Linked DNA regions of Homo sapiens: all the other regions are linked to region 1. The links are contacts of gene promoters, found by promoter capture Hi-C in blood cells and fetal thymus (Javierre and others, 2016). All regions are on one chromosome and are shown on one strand. The core of a region is centred on a gene start or on the middle of the fragment in contact, and the rest is flanking DNA. Distances in the headings are between cores, read along the strand shown. Region 1 holds the start of PRKAG3 (protein kinase AMP-activated non-catalytic subunit gamma 3). Region 2 holds the start of CXCR2 (C-X-C motif chemokine receptor 2). Region 3 holds the start of CXCR1 (C-X-C motif chemokine receptor 1).

The links. Contacts are between HindIII fragments. The CHiCAGO score rates a contact against its expected background, and 5 or more counts as called.
Region 2: the fragment with the promoter of CXCR2 here is called in contact with the fragment with the promoter of PRKAG3 in region 1 in 2 of 17 cell types (non-activated CD4 T cells and erythroblasts); the score reaches 7.5 in non-activated CD4 T cells.
Region 3: a contact is called between the fragment with the promoter of CXCR1 here and the fragment with the promoter of PRKAG3 in region 1, in 3 of 17 cell types (erythroblasts, naive B cells and total B cells). The highest score is 8.7, in erythroblasts.

The regions. Positions count from the first base shown.
Region 1 is chr2:218,829,673-218,834,050 of GRCh38, forward strand. PRKAG3 (protein kinase AMP-activated non-catalytic subunit gamma 3) reads right to left here and starts at 2,131. Exons shown (of 14, transcript NM_017431.4): 1 at 2,066-2,131; 2 at 1,664-1,703; 3 at 1,074-1,229; 4 at 306-709. The coding sequence starts at 2,098. The HindIII fragment of the contact is 3,600 bases long and covers 1,317-4,378 here.
Region 2 is chr2:218,123,916-218,128,293 of GRCh38, forward strand. CXCR2 (C-X-C motif chemokine receptor 2) reads left to right here and starts at 2,113. Exons shown (of 3, transcript NM_001557.4): 1 at 2,113-2,438. The HindIII fragment of the contact is 2,247 bases long and covers 301-2,547 here.
Region 3 is chr2:218,165,034-218,169,411 of GRCh38, forward strand. CXCR1 (C-X-C motif chemokine receptor 1) reads right to left here and starts at 1,929. Exons shown (of 2, transcript NM_000634.3): 1 at 1,875-1,929; 2 at 1-211. The coding sequence starts at 178. The HindIII fragment of the contact is 3,933 bases long and covers 1-2,236 here.

The DNA of each region.
Region 1 (4,378 bases), core at 881-3,380:
CCAAGAATCCTCTGAACTATGTAGGGTGCAGCAGGCATTTCGATCCCCATTTTAGAGACAAGAAAGGTAATGTAACTCAAGGTCCTACAGCTACTAAGTGGCAGAGCTGTGATGACAATTACGTGTGCTAACAGAGAGTAGAAGCTGTCCCTCCCCCAACTGGCCTCCATAGTGCTAAGAAGGAGTCCTTTCAGGGGGCTTGCAGGGGCACCTGGCTCAGCAGGGCATCCTGCAGGGTGGGAGTGGCGGCTGCAGCACCGTGTGGATGGAGAGTGAGTACAGGTTGGGCAGAGCCGTGGCCTCACCTCCAGCATGGTGTCGAAGATGACTAGCTTGGAGCTAGTTGCCATGGCATCGTAGCAGGTGTGCTCCTGCATGAAGCGCATGTAGATCTGGGCGCCGGGTTTCCGCAGTTCGTCATCCCAGCCCAGCTTGGGAAATGGGGCCTGCGGGGACAGGCACAGGGCAGGCCTCTCTTCCAGCAGGCCTTCTAGCTCACACTCCCAGGCCTCTGTGGCTGGGAACTCCGTGGCCAGCTCCACATCATCTGTGCTGGAGCCTGCAGCTGAGGCTGTACAGTCAGAGGGGAGGCAGTCCCACCCTGTTGGTGGAGTGCCCACCCCGGCAGGATCAGCTTGAGCCAAGGGTGTGGTCTTGGGGAATGTGGCCTCCAGCCCGGTGGACTCAGCAGCTGGCCTGGACCGGGGACCTGTTTGGGGGAGGAGGGGAAGAGGACAGTAACTCCATCTTCCAAAGCACGTTCTCATCTGCTGTCGCCATTCATCTCACAGCAGCAGTGGGAAGCCTGGATGCTGTGGCCCTATTTGCAGGTGAGGGGCTGACCTGAGAGTCGCCCCAGGTAGTGGCTCTGTCCCATCTTTCTGAGTTGGCCATGCTGGCCTCTGGCACTGCAGTGCCTTGTTCTCTACTATGTAGGGAGACTGAGGCCACAAGATGAAGGTTGGGTCCAACTCTGTGTTATGGAGGGACCTGAGGTAGAGACCAGACCCAGGCTCCTCTGGGATTTCCCACTCCCCTGGCTCCCACCTCCCCAGAACTGGCCTTGGCCTCACCTTCCCCCTGACCTGGTGGCTCCCCTTCCTCCACCGACTTCTGCCTTGTCCATCTCAAGGCTTTGGCCCTCCGTTTCCCACGGATTCTTTCTGAGCTGCTGGTCACAGCTGGTGATGGCCATGAGCTGCTGTTTTCTTGCTCTAGGAAGCTCATCTCTGGAAGGGGAATGGGGCCTGTTTGGTTAATAGGGAGTAATGCATCAAAATCAATTCAAATGTTATTCATAATCTTTAGGATTTGCAAGCTTCCAATGGGCTTTTCTCCAACATATTTCTCATTTAAAACTTACAGCAGCCTTATAAAGCAGGCATTATTATCATCCCTATTTTGCTAGTGAGGGACCAGAAATTCAGAGAGGTTAAGCAATTTGCTGCAAATCACACAGCAAGTAAGTGGGAAAGTCACTTCTGAAAAGAGGAAATTGGAGGTGAGGGAAACACACCTGGGGAAAGGAGGAAGAACAATGAGGAAGAAAGACCAAAAGGAGGAAGATAAAAGCCAGGCTGGGAGGGAATTGGGGTCCCAGAAAAGTGGGGGACAAGGAGGTGGGGGAAGAGGTTAGGCCCCAGGGAGGGGGCATTCTCCCTACCTTGATGCTCAGAACCCCCAAGGCTGCTCCAGGAAGGGGTCTGTGGGGAGAAGAGTTTCTGAAGGAGTGGGGAAAGTGCCTTACATTCCCAAACCCCTTCTCCCTGAACACACGCCTACACACCCATGCACACCAATACACACGCTCAGACACACGCCATACACAGACATGCAGCCATACACAAACACACACAGAAACACACACATCCAAACACTCCCAGGCACACAGAACCACACACACTCACAATACATATGCCCAAACATGCACATGCCCATATTCACGAGAAAATCCAGACCAAACACACACCAGAAGACACACACGCCCACACACACATTCACAGCCCGTGCGCTCAATCTTCTGGCCTCAGCTGCCCCGGCTCCGGCTCCCCTGGGACCCCCATACCCTGCGCAGTGCGTGCTCCAGCCCGGGCTCCATGTGGCCAGCCCCAGACCAACTGAGAGCAAGTGTGCGACACTGTGGCTGGGCTGCACTATTCTGGGCCCGGCCCCGGGCACCCTGCCCTGCCAGGATCGGTTTCTCTCTGATTGGGTGTCAGGCAATGAGAGGGAGGGGCCCCCATTTGCTCAGCTGCTACAGCCCTGAAGGCTGGGGGTTGCTGGGAGGGAAGGGGCGCACCGGATAATCTGGGTACTTGGTCCTCAGCTGCCTCCTGGGTCACTGAGGACAAGCTAGAGGGACCCTTTTTGAGGGGATGTGGCTTGGAGCATGTGGGAACATGGTCATTGAGCAGAGTTGGGCTCTCAGAGTCCTGAGCCCCTATTCCAAGAGCCTCCCTCATCTTTATCAGGCACCAAAGAAGGGAACATGGAGGCAGATCAGCATAACTTTCTTCCTTGTTCTAATTTCAGTAGAGGGTGGTGCTGGAGTTAGAAAGGGCAAGTTGCAGCCAGCTCAGAGGCTGGAGATGAGGCAAGGGGTTTGTGGGTAGTCCAGGAGAGCAGCTAGTGTATGTCCAGATGTCCAGATTTGAGTCCCTGGAGTGTGTCCCTCTCTCAGGTGAAGGAGATGGAGTGGGTGTTTCAGGCAGGTGAAGAGCTGTGAGAATCACCTCGAAGGCGTGGGGAGCACTCAGAGCTCCCCGCAGGGGAAGAGACATCTGTTTCCACCTGTGGTTGGGAGATATGCCTGGGTGTGCAGGTGTCCCAGCCCCCAACCCTCTGTGAGTGCTGTGCCTACATCCCTGGTGCCAACAGGATCCCAGCCTGGCTCCAGTAGCTGCCACCCTCTTCCTTGGCATTCCCGGAGCCTGAGTCAATGTCCGGATTGGGAATGCTGACCCAGCTGCTCCGGCTTTCCTCTCTCTGCCCCTCCCTTTCTCTCCTCCTTCCAGCCTCTTCCATCCCAGCCCTGGCCCTGGAGTGGACACTCAACAACAGACTGGTGAATTTCTGTCTGAGTTTATTACATGTGTTTTCCATCAACCCTCAATGTTCCTACTCTGCCAATGGGGAGGGTGGAGGAGAATGGAGTTGGGAGGACAGCCTTGGCCAGGGCTGTTCCTGTGGTCCCCAGCCTTTCTCAAGGACATCTGCTCACTGGACAGTGGGAACTGGCTCAGAGGACAGAGATCAGTGTAAGAGAATTTCCTTCACACCAAGCATGTTTTTTCAAATGGACTCAAGATAGCCACCACCAGTTTGAGAGAAAGGAGAGTAGGAAGAACACCAAGTCCAGAGTGTTCAAGCATAAAAATAAGGTCTACATGAGGCCATTGGCTGTGGTTACTCAAACATGGAGCCACTCAGAAGGCTTCTAAGATTGTGAGGGTGTTGTATTGGCAAAGAAACCATAAGCCTGATCAGCAAAGCCTGGTTTGACACCCCTTCCCTTGCCTTATTCCCAGCCCTCCAAATCCGCACCAGCAGGAAGAGGGCTGTGAAGGCTGGAAGGACTGCAGAAAGCACAAGTTTGCCAGTGTGGGACAAAGGATATTGGATAAACAACAGCTTCCCAGCAGGAAAAGCCAGAGGCTACATAGGAGAGTGGAAAGGGGAGATCTTCCCAGAGAGCAGAACCAGGGGTGGTCAAATGTGCTGACCAAGAACTTACTCCACTGCCAGGAAAGGGCTTAGCCATTCCTGCCCAACCAGATTTGATAATTAAGATCCAGCAGCTGCTGGGTGTTTGCCATTCTTTCAGTTGCAAGTGGATTTTTTTTTTTGAGACAGTGTCTCACTATGTTGTCCACGCTAGTCTCAAACTCCTGGGCTCAATGATCCTCCTATCTCAGTAGCTGGGACTATAGGCGCGTAGCAGTGTGCTCAGCATGAGTCAGTGTTTTAATTGAGCTTACCCTCTTCTTCCTCCACTGTTGTCTGTGGGGAGTAGGAGGTGCAAATCACCTGCCTGTTAGTTTTTAGGTCACCAGACCATAGGGTGTCCATCTACCTGGAAGAAGGAACTGCCCACCCCTCAGATAGCCTGGACTCTCAGCTGGGTGCCGTACTCAGATGGAACTCTGACTTGCCTCCTTTTGAAGGGCAGTAACTGTGTTTTTTGTGTGGGATGGCCAGATGGGTGAGCTCTAGTAGAGCAATATCTCTTCTACCCTTCTTCTGCTGTTAGTAAACCACTACAATTTTAACTGAATGCAAGATTATATTTCACAGCTTCTTTTGCAGATAGTATGGCCATATGACTAAGTTTGACCATGAAATTTGAGCAGCAATGTTATATACATATATATTATATGAT
Region 2 (4,378 bases), core at 863-3,362, 710 kb before region 1:
AAATGCTGGGATTACAGGCGTGAGCCACCACGCCCAGCAACTATGTTTTTTTTTTATTTCTTTTTCTTCCCTCTTAAGGATCTGACTTTAATATTTATAGTTTATTTTAGCCTAATTTGATCCTTGGTTTTTAGGAGTGAAGACTTTTGGATTTTAGGAGTGAAGACTCTGTATGAGTTCGTTAGTTAGAGACAGTCCTTGTGTGCTGGCTTTCCCAGATCCTGGTTGTAGCAGTTACGTACTTGGTGTGTGGGAAGGTTTACTGTCTCCTACAGGGTTGGAATGGCAGGAATCTCTTTAAGCTTACCTCATTCTCTCGTGGGGTACTCTTTATTTATTTATTTAATTTTTCCCCAGTATTTTACTTACTGAGTTGATTCAGGCTTTGGACCAGTAGGGGAAGTATCCCTGGGTAGGCACCAGATGTAGCTAAAGTAGGTGGGTAGGCACCGGTTGTAGCTAAAGCAGGTGGGCAGAGATCCCAGCCTTGATGAGAGTGCCTGGGAGAGCTCTCAATTAGATGTGCTGAGGTTTTGTCAGGGTGAAGGGTAGGAGCTACCTCAGGTCCCCCACTAGGCCAGCTGGAAAGCTATCCACCTCCCAGCTTCACTCCTTTCCCAGTGTTCCAGCTATTCAGATCAGACAGGCAGTTATTTTCATCTGTAGAAATGTTGATGTTCCAAGTAGAGAGGAATTGTGACTGCCTGTCATGCAAACCTGAATCTGGGGAGTGCTCCTCCCGTGGGGATGCAATCACCCTGATTTGTTCCAGGAAGGCTGTCTATAGGTGCATCAATGCTGCGTTCCTTTGGGAGAAGCCCCAGCTCTGTCTGCAGTGGCGTACCAGGGGGAACAAGGATCCCTTCTCTAAGACCCTTCACAATACCAGAGGCTGCCTGCCTATTGGGTAGAGGTGCAAACTTTCCCCCACTCTGCCCAGCACAGCAATTGTCTCTGCAATAGGAAACTTCCCACCAGTGAAAAGATCTGGGACTCAAGCCCTGCCATTCAGATTCTTTTGTTCCACAGGGTATTCCCTTGATGTGATGTTCTTCCCCTTCCTCTAGGAATGGGACTTCCTGGAAGCCAGACTACAGTGCTCTTCTGGGTCTAGCCACCCAGTGGGCCTACCAGACTCTGGGCTGGTGCTAGGGAATGTCTGCAAGGGATCCAGTGGTGTTACCTGTCTTCAAGACTCCCAGCAGTGAATACCAGCACCATCTCTGACAGAAGTGGGAGGGGAGTGATGCAAACTCTGCAAGATTCCTTGGTTGTAGATAGACTTAGAGTATTGACTTTCTCAAATGCTGGTTATAATTATAGTGAACTTATCACGTGGACAGACGCAGGACTTCTGGTTAGCCAGGGTGTTGTAAGCAGTGGTGATAGCTGAGAATATGCAGCCGTTTTCTCCTTCCTGGGTACAGTGCTATTCTGCCTAGAGGTGAGTTTTTGCCTGTCTCACAGAGTAGGCTGCAGCCTGCCACTTCTTTCAAAAGTTCTGTGGATTCTTTCAGCTTTCCTGTTCAGTTCCTGCATTCGTTCCTGGAGAAAAAAAAATTATAGTGTGAATCTCTACACGCTATTCTGTCCTTCCAGATGGGAGAGGCATGCTAATGCTGCCTCCAATCTGTTGTCTTGGGGGGAAAGAAAGCAATTTGTTTTTGTTTTTTTTTTTAATGGATTTGCTGGGTTTAGTAACCCAGAGGTCATTGGGAACCTTGGCGAAAGTTATTTCAGTGGAGCAGTAGGAAGGAAGCCAGTTGCAGTGTCTTTGTTGAGCAGCAGAGGGGAGGTGAGGAAGTGGAGAGAGCAGCTGTGGTGGCTGAAGGGTGCTAGGACAGAGGGAGCATGATAAAGCCATAAGTAAGATGTGGTAGAAGGGAAAGAGCCAGGACAGAGGGGAGAGAAAGCAGGATCCTCAAGGACCAGAGAGGCAGTGGGTCCCACAGTCAGGTGCGGGGATTCAACAGAAACAGAAGGAGGGACGCTTCTCACTCTGACCCCGGAAAGAAGGAAGAAACTGCGTGCGAGTTCAGACAAGTCCGTTGGCGGGGGCTGGGATGCCTGCATCTTCCTTGTTAAAAAAGGAAGTGCAGGTTCAAAACATTCAGAGACAGAAGGTGGATAGACAAATCTCCACCTTCAGACTGGTAGGCTCCTCCAGAAGCCATCAGACAGGAAGATGTGAAAATCCCCAGCACTCATCCCAGAATCACTAAGTGGCACCTGTCCTGGGCCAAAGTCCCAGGACAGACCTCATTGTTCCTCTGTGGGAATACCTCCCCAGGAGGGCATCCTGGATTTCCCCCTTGCAACCCAGGTCAGAAGTTTCATCGTCAAGGTTGTTTCATCTTTTTTTTCCTGTCTAACAGCTCTGACTACCACCCAACCTTGAGGCACAGTGAAGACATCGGTGGCCACTCCAATAACAGCAGGTAGGTGACTTGTTCAGTCTGAGATGCTGGCAACATATTTCTAATGGAAGAGATCTGGAAACTTCAGCCTCCTCTGAGGCCCCTGAGAACTGGGGTGATGAAGTGTAGAAGCTTAGAGCTAAAGACAACTAAGTCTTCACCTAGACAGTGTTGCACAAAAGAATTTTCTGCAATAATAGAAATGTCCTAGACCTGCCCTGCCCAGTATGGTAGCCACTAGTCACACGTGGCCACGGAGCACTTGAAATGTGACTAGTGTGACTGCGGATCTCAATTTTTATTTCATTTTATTTTATTTTATTTTTTCTTTTTTGAGACAGGCTCTCACTCCAATGCCCAGGCTGGAGTGCTGTGGCATGATCTTGGCTCATTGCAACCTCAACCTACAGGTCTAGGTGATTCTCCCACCTCAGCCTCCCAAGTAGCTGCAGCTACAGGCATGTGCCGCTACACTCAGCTAATTTTTTGGGTTTTGTTTGTTTGTTTGTTTTGTTTTTGTTTTTGTAAAGACAGGGTTTCGTCATGTTGCCCAGGCTGATCTCAAACTCCTGGGCTCAAGCGATCCGCCCACCTCGGCCTCCCAAAGTGCTGGGATTACAGGCATGGGCCACCTTGCCTGGCCTTTATTTTAATTAATTTTAATTTAAATAGCTACACATGGCTAGTAGCTAGCATGCTGAACAGAATAGAATTAGAAGAAGCTCCCGTTTTCCAAAGGCACACAACAAGGCCCAGAAAGAATGACTTCTCCAAGCAGGATTAGAAGCCAGGTTTTTGTTTTGTTTTTGTTTGAGACAGGGTTTTGCTCTGTCGCCCAGGCTGGAATGCAATGGCACAATCTCGGCTCACTGCAACTTCTGCCTCCCGAGTTCAAGCAATTCTTATGCCTCAGCCTCTGGAGTAGCTGGGATTACAGGCGTGCGCTGCCACGCCTGGCTAATTTTTGCATTTTTAATAGAGGCGGGGTTTCACCATGTTGGCCAGGCTGTTCTGTAACTCCTGGCCTCGAGTGATCCACTCACCTCAGCCTCCCAAAGTGCTGGGATTACAGGCATGAGCCACCGCACCAGAAGCCAGTTTTTTAATTCACTCCACCCTGCATATAACCGCAGTGATCTCCATGGAAATGAAATTGACCTAAGGAGCATGAAGAAGGAGGCTGACTGGGAAATGTCAAATCTGGGCTCCCCTCTCTACATCCTTTGTATCTGACTTTCTGGGACACAGGGAGGTACCTAATGGAGCTCAGAAACTTTAGGCTGGGATCCTGCTCCTTATTACAGTGAACAGGAGATAGGATTTGAGAGCAGATTTTTAGAAGTTTTTTAAACTGAAAACCTAGTTCAGCTGTGTCACTCTAGGTATGTTGCTTAACCTCTCAGAGTCTTCATTTCCTCTTCCAGAAAGTGCCTGCTTCGTGAGGTTATCCTGAGGATTAATTGATACAAATTCTGGAAAGCACTTTGCCCAGAAGCTAGAACCTGGTAGACACTCAACATTACAGCTAATATGACAATTAATATCCAGGTCAAAGTAAATTAGATGTCATCAAAGTCAGCCTTGAAAGCAGACCCACTGCCGACTGCTTTCCCTTGACTGGGGATGTAGTGAGAGAGGCAGCATGTTATCAGTGAATAAACTATTCCAGTAATAATGATCACAACAATAAAGGTTAACATTGTACTTTATGTATGTTTTACGTGATTTACAAGCAATCCCTCATTTCATCCTCACCACAACCCCATGAGTTGGATTCTGTATTGGCCCCATTTTACAGATGAGTAAACTGAGACTCAGAAAGGAAAAGTCACTTGCCCAGAATTGCTCAGCTAGCCCTGGTGTCATCTGCCTCTCTCCATATGTAATAAGCCTCTATCTGGTTTTAGCATCAACTGGCCAGGTGGCATTGCATTCTTCCCCAGCTTGGGAAAGAGAGGTGA
Region 3 (4,378 bases), core at 679-3,178, 660 kb before region 1:
CCAGGGAGTTTCCCAGCAGGCTCAGCAGGAACACTAGGGCATAGGCGATGATCACAACATACTTGTTGAGTGTCTCAGTTTCTAGCATACAGGGGCTGTAATCTTCATCTGCAGGTGGCATGCCAGTGAAATTTAGATCATCAAAATCCCACATCTGTGGATCTGTAATATTTGACATGTCCTCTTCAGTTTCAGCAATGGTTTGATCTAACTGGAAGGTTAGAAGGAAGGAAATGTGATTTAGTAGCTCGGATTCAAGGCATTCTCATCAATGATGTGAGAGCAGTTACTGGGATATCCTTGGCTTCCCTGTTGGTTTGGCAATGAGAGCTCTCCTTCCTCCTTTGACTCCAACCTGGTCTTCTTCGGAGGTTGGCTTCCCAGTGTTCTCCACCTTCCACAACTCTAAGGCCTGGCCTGAGTGTGGGGTAAGATGGAATATGGGGAAAACACCTTAGCCCTAGCTCAACCTACAACTGCCTCCTCTCAGCCTATGTCTCTACCTCTGTCCCTCTTTAGCCTTCTCCATCCTCAGCTGTGTCTGTGCATTTGGATGTGGGGACCAGGTTGGTCTTAGACATTCAGGGAAGGGCCAGCATTAAGCAAAATGCAAGAAGGCAAACCTGTTCCCAGGTGTCCCCTTCTACTATTTCTATTCCTATGTTCTCCCTGATTCTTGTTTACCCTCCTTAAAATCTACTGGGGGAAGGAAGTGATAACAACACATTGCATTAAACTGTATATTTTAAGCCTTCTTTAAATGAGGAGCACATATTTTGTTCCTCTGTCTAAAGGAGTTTTAAGTATTTGAGAAGATAAAGTCTCCATCTTGGTCCCTGAAACCCTCCACCCCTGAAAAAATCCACAGAATCATTCAAGAGTTTTCAAATATATTTCCTATTGTGAAATAGTTTACTGAAATAAGATCTTCCCAGAAGCCCAGTATGTGAAGCAGATAAAAGCTGAGCCACTGTGGGGCAGAGTGTGCTAATCTCCGAACCCAGATGGCCCCTAAAGAGCCCCTCAAAGCTCCAGGACTCTCCAGAGAAGTCTGAAAGCCTTTGGAAAGTCACCGAGGTTGGTTGTAAAGACACCTAGCATCCAGTCTTCATTCCATCCTGATTCTACCATTAATAAGTTTCGTGTGTAATCCCAGCCCTTTGGGAGGCCAAGGCAGGCAGATCATGAAGTCAGGAGTTCGAGACCAGCCTGACCAAAATGATGAAACCCCGTCTCTACTAAAAATACAAAAAAATTAGCTGGGTGTGGTGGCGTGCACCTGTAATCCCAACTACTCAGGAGGCTGAGGCAGGAGAATCACTTGAACCCGGGAAATGGAGGTTGCAGTGAGCCGAGATCGTGCCACAGTACTACAGCCTAGGCGACAGAGTGAGACTCCATCTCAAAATAAATAAATAAATAAATAAATAAGTCTCATGACCTTGAGTGGGGTCTCGTACCCCTATAGATTTCAGTCTTCTCATCTGCAAATCGAGGAAGACAGAATCATCCACCTCTCATTTGCTGCCAGGCCTGAGGGTGTATGATGAGTCCACTCAGATCCACACATTTTAGTGTGTTCCCTCCCTACCAGTATTTGCATTTTCACTGAAGACAAAGTCTTAAGGTGAAGCAATAAACATCAAATTGGGGAATGGTCAGCCTCTTCCCACAAAAGGGCAAGGTATAAAAAGAGGGGATGAGGAGGCTGTCCTCTTCACCTGCTAACTCCATGTATGAGTGGTGGTCACAAGAGAGGAAGCGGGCAGCAGAAATCCTCAGCTCCCACAGAAATGAATACATTTTCCAAAATAAAGTCAAGCCAAGCAGCCCTACCCCACAGAAAGTCCTAGCAAACAGAGGTGGCTTCCTACCTGAAGCACCGGCCAGGTGTGTCCAACAGTAGGAGCTGCAGTCAGAGATCAGAGTGACTTAACAGCTAGAGGGCACTTGATGAATAAACGGAAATAAGGAAACCACATCAGATGACACCTCCCTTCTGAGCCCCACCCATGTCTACATTTGGGGAAGAACAGTTTAAGTCAAGGGATCACAGACTTGTGATTAGAGACTGCCAGGGTCCATATGACCAAGTGGGGGTCCCAGGTGTGAAGCTGGGGTTGAGGGTCCATTATCTGAATTCTCCACTCTATGGATGATCATTTTTATTATTTTCCTTTTCTTGAATTTATTTCCATTTGTTTATTCCTAAATTCCCTAGTATATCACCTGTGGAAGCTTGCAACTTCCTGACCAAGTATAAAGGGCGAAGGATTTGACTTACAGCAGAGACTTCAGAAGGAGTCCCCCATAGGAGGGACTTGGGGGCAATCCAGTGGGAAAGAGGAGGAGGACTGCGCTTGAGTTGTGTTTGAACAGCAGGCACTCAATCTCTACTTATTTTGCAGGCTTCTTTGAGGTGGCCTAGCTCGGATTCAAGGCATTCTCATCAAGGATGTGAGAGCAGTTACTGGGATATCCTTGGCTTCCCTGTTGGTTTGCCAACGAGAGCTCCCCTTCCTCCTTTGCCTCCAACCTGGTCTTCTTTGGAGGTTGGCTTCCCAGTGTTCTCCACCTTCCACAACTCCAAGGCCTGGCCTCAATCTCTACTTATTTTTCAGGCTTTTTGAGGGTATTTGAATGGAACACAAACCCTCCTTTGCCGCCAGCCACTCTTTCGCACAATCACTGCCAATGACCAGTTGGTTTAAATGGCCCTGAGGCTGACGGCATAGGCCACTCCCAGAGTCTGGCTGGTTAGCAGAGAGACCACAGAGCTGGGGCAGTCCATGAATGGAAGAGCTGTGGTCAAGGTCACTGCAGCCCCCATCTCAGTAACGGAGAATGGCTTCTCTGGGAACCCACCTTAGCTGCCTCCAGCAGCTAATGGCTGTCCCCTAGCTTGAGTCTTCTGGCACCTTCGTCACTTCTCCATATAACATGAACCCTGCTGTGAGGCATTTACAAGTCAGCCCTCTTCTAGCTTGGGAGCCATGAGACAGCAAGAACCTTCTTCAATTCATGTTTATGTTCTCTTTCAGGGAATATAGTAGGTGCTCAATCAATGGTTGTGGAATAAATGAAGGGAGACATTTCTCCTGTGATTCATGGACCATAAGTCACCACCACGATTCAGTGTCTATTGCTTTTGGCTACACACTAAAGTCACTGGTATGCCTGATAGCTTCACTTCCACACAGCCCAGTTGGTCTGCCTGGCATTGCTTCTTTCCAACCTTCCTCTAATGTTTGGAGCTAATGCCAGTCTGTGCAAGTATAAATCCTGCCCTACCACAAATGCCAAATTTACCATGCCATGGATTCCTACAGTTCTGCACTGGAAAGAATTTTTTTCTTTTTTTAAGAGACAGGCTCTCACTGTGTTGCCAAGGCTAGAATGCAGTGGTGTGATCATAGCTCAGTGTAACCTCAAATGCCTGGGCTCAAGCAATCCTCCCACCTCAACCTCCTGAATAGCTGGGACTACAGGCAAGAGCCACTACATCTGGCTTTCTTTTTTTATATTATATTTTTATTTTTATTTTTTATTTAGTTATTTATTTATTTGTAGAGAAAGGGTCCTGATATACTGCCCAGGCTTATCTTGAACTCCTAGCCTCTAGTGATCCTCCTGCCTTTGCCTCCCAAAGCACTGGGATTACAGGCATAAGCCACCATGCCCAGCCGGCAAGCCTATTTTTTAAGCTAAGTTGTGCTTTCCTCCTGGGCTCTTTTATCATTCATAGATGGTAACAGGAAGTGTAAGGGGACAATAGCCACTCATGCTTTGCTTTTACTGATGTTGGACTATTGTGCTCTAACGCCTAGACTAGAAAGGAGTCAAAGATGGGGTAGTCCCAGGAGGTGGGAGACTCCCTCTATTAATCATCTAGGGAAAATCAGCCCCAAGGGCAGAAAATAGTCACTGGGGACACAGGAGAAAAAAGACGGGGGCCTAGACTGCAAAACACCTGCCTATACTCAAGAAAGACCCTGAGGCCGGGAGAAGGATAGTTTTTGCCACAAGGGGGCAGCAGTTGCTAGACAGGGAATCCCCTGTGAGACACCCCCTTGAGAAAGACCAGGGCCAAGAGCAGGTATATTTAACACCGTATGTTAAGTTCTTCTTGGTGTATAGTTCCCTTCTGCTTTTCCTAAACCCTCAGTAAGTCGGTTCACTATTCCAGTCTATTTCAAGGAATCACTGAGGGGTTAGGGAAGAGGCTGGTCTCCTGGAGCCCGAGGAGTGAAGGGGAGCAGCCCTGCTGCATGAGTGTGGTGAGGGCAACAGCAATGCTGGGGTCTCCAGGAGAAGTTGCATCTGGAGGACAAGGGTGGAAAGAACCTTTCACTTCGCAGTAGGACGAGCATTTCACTGA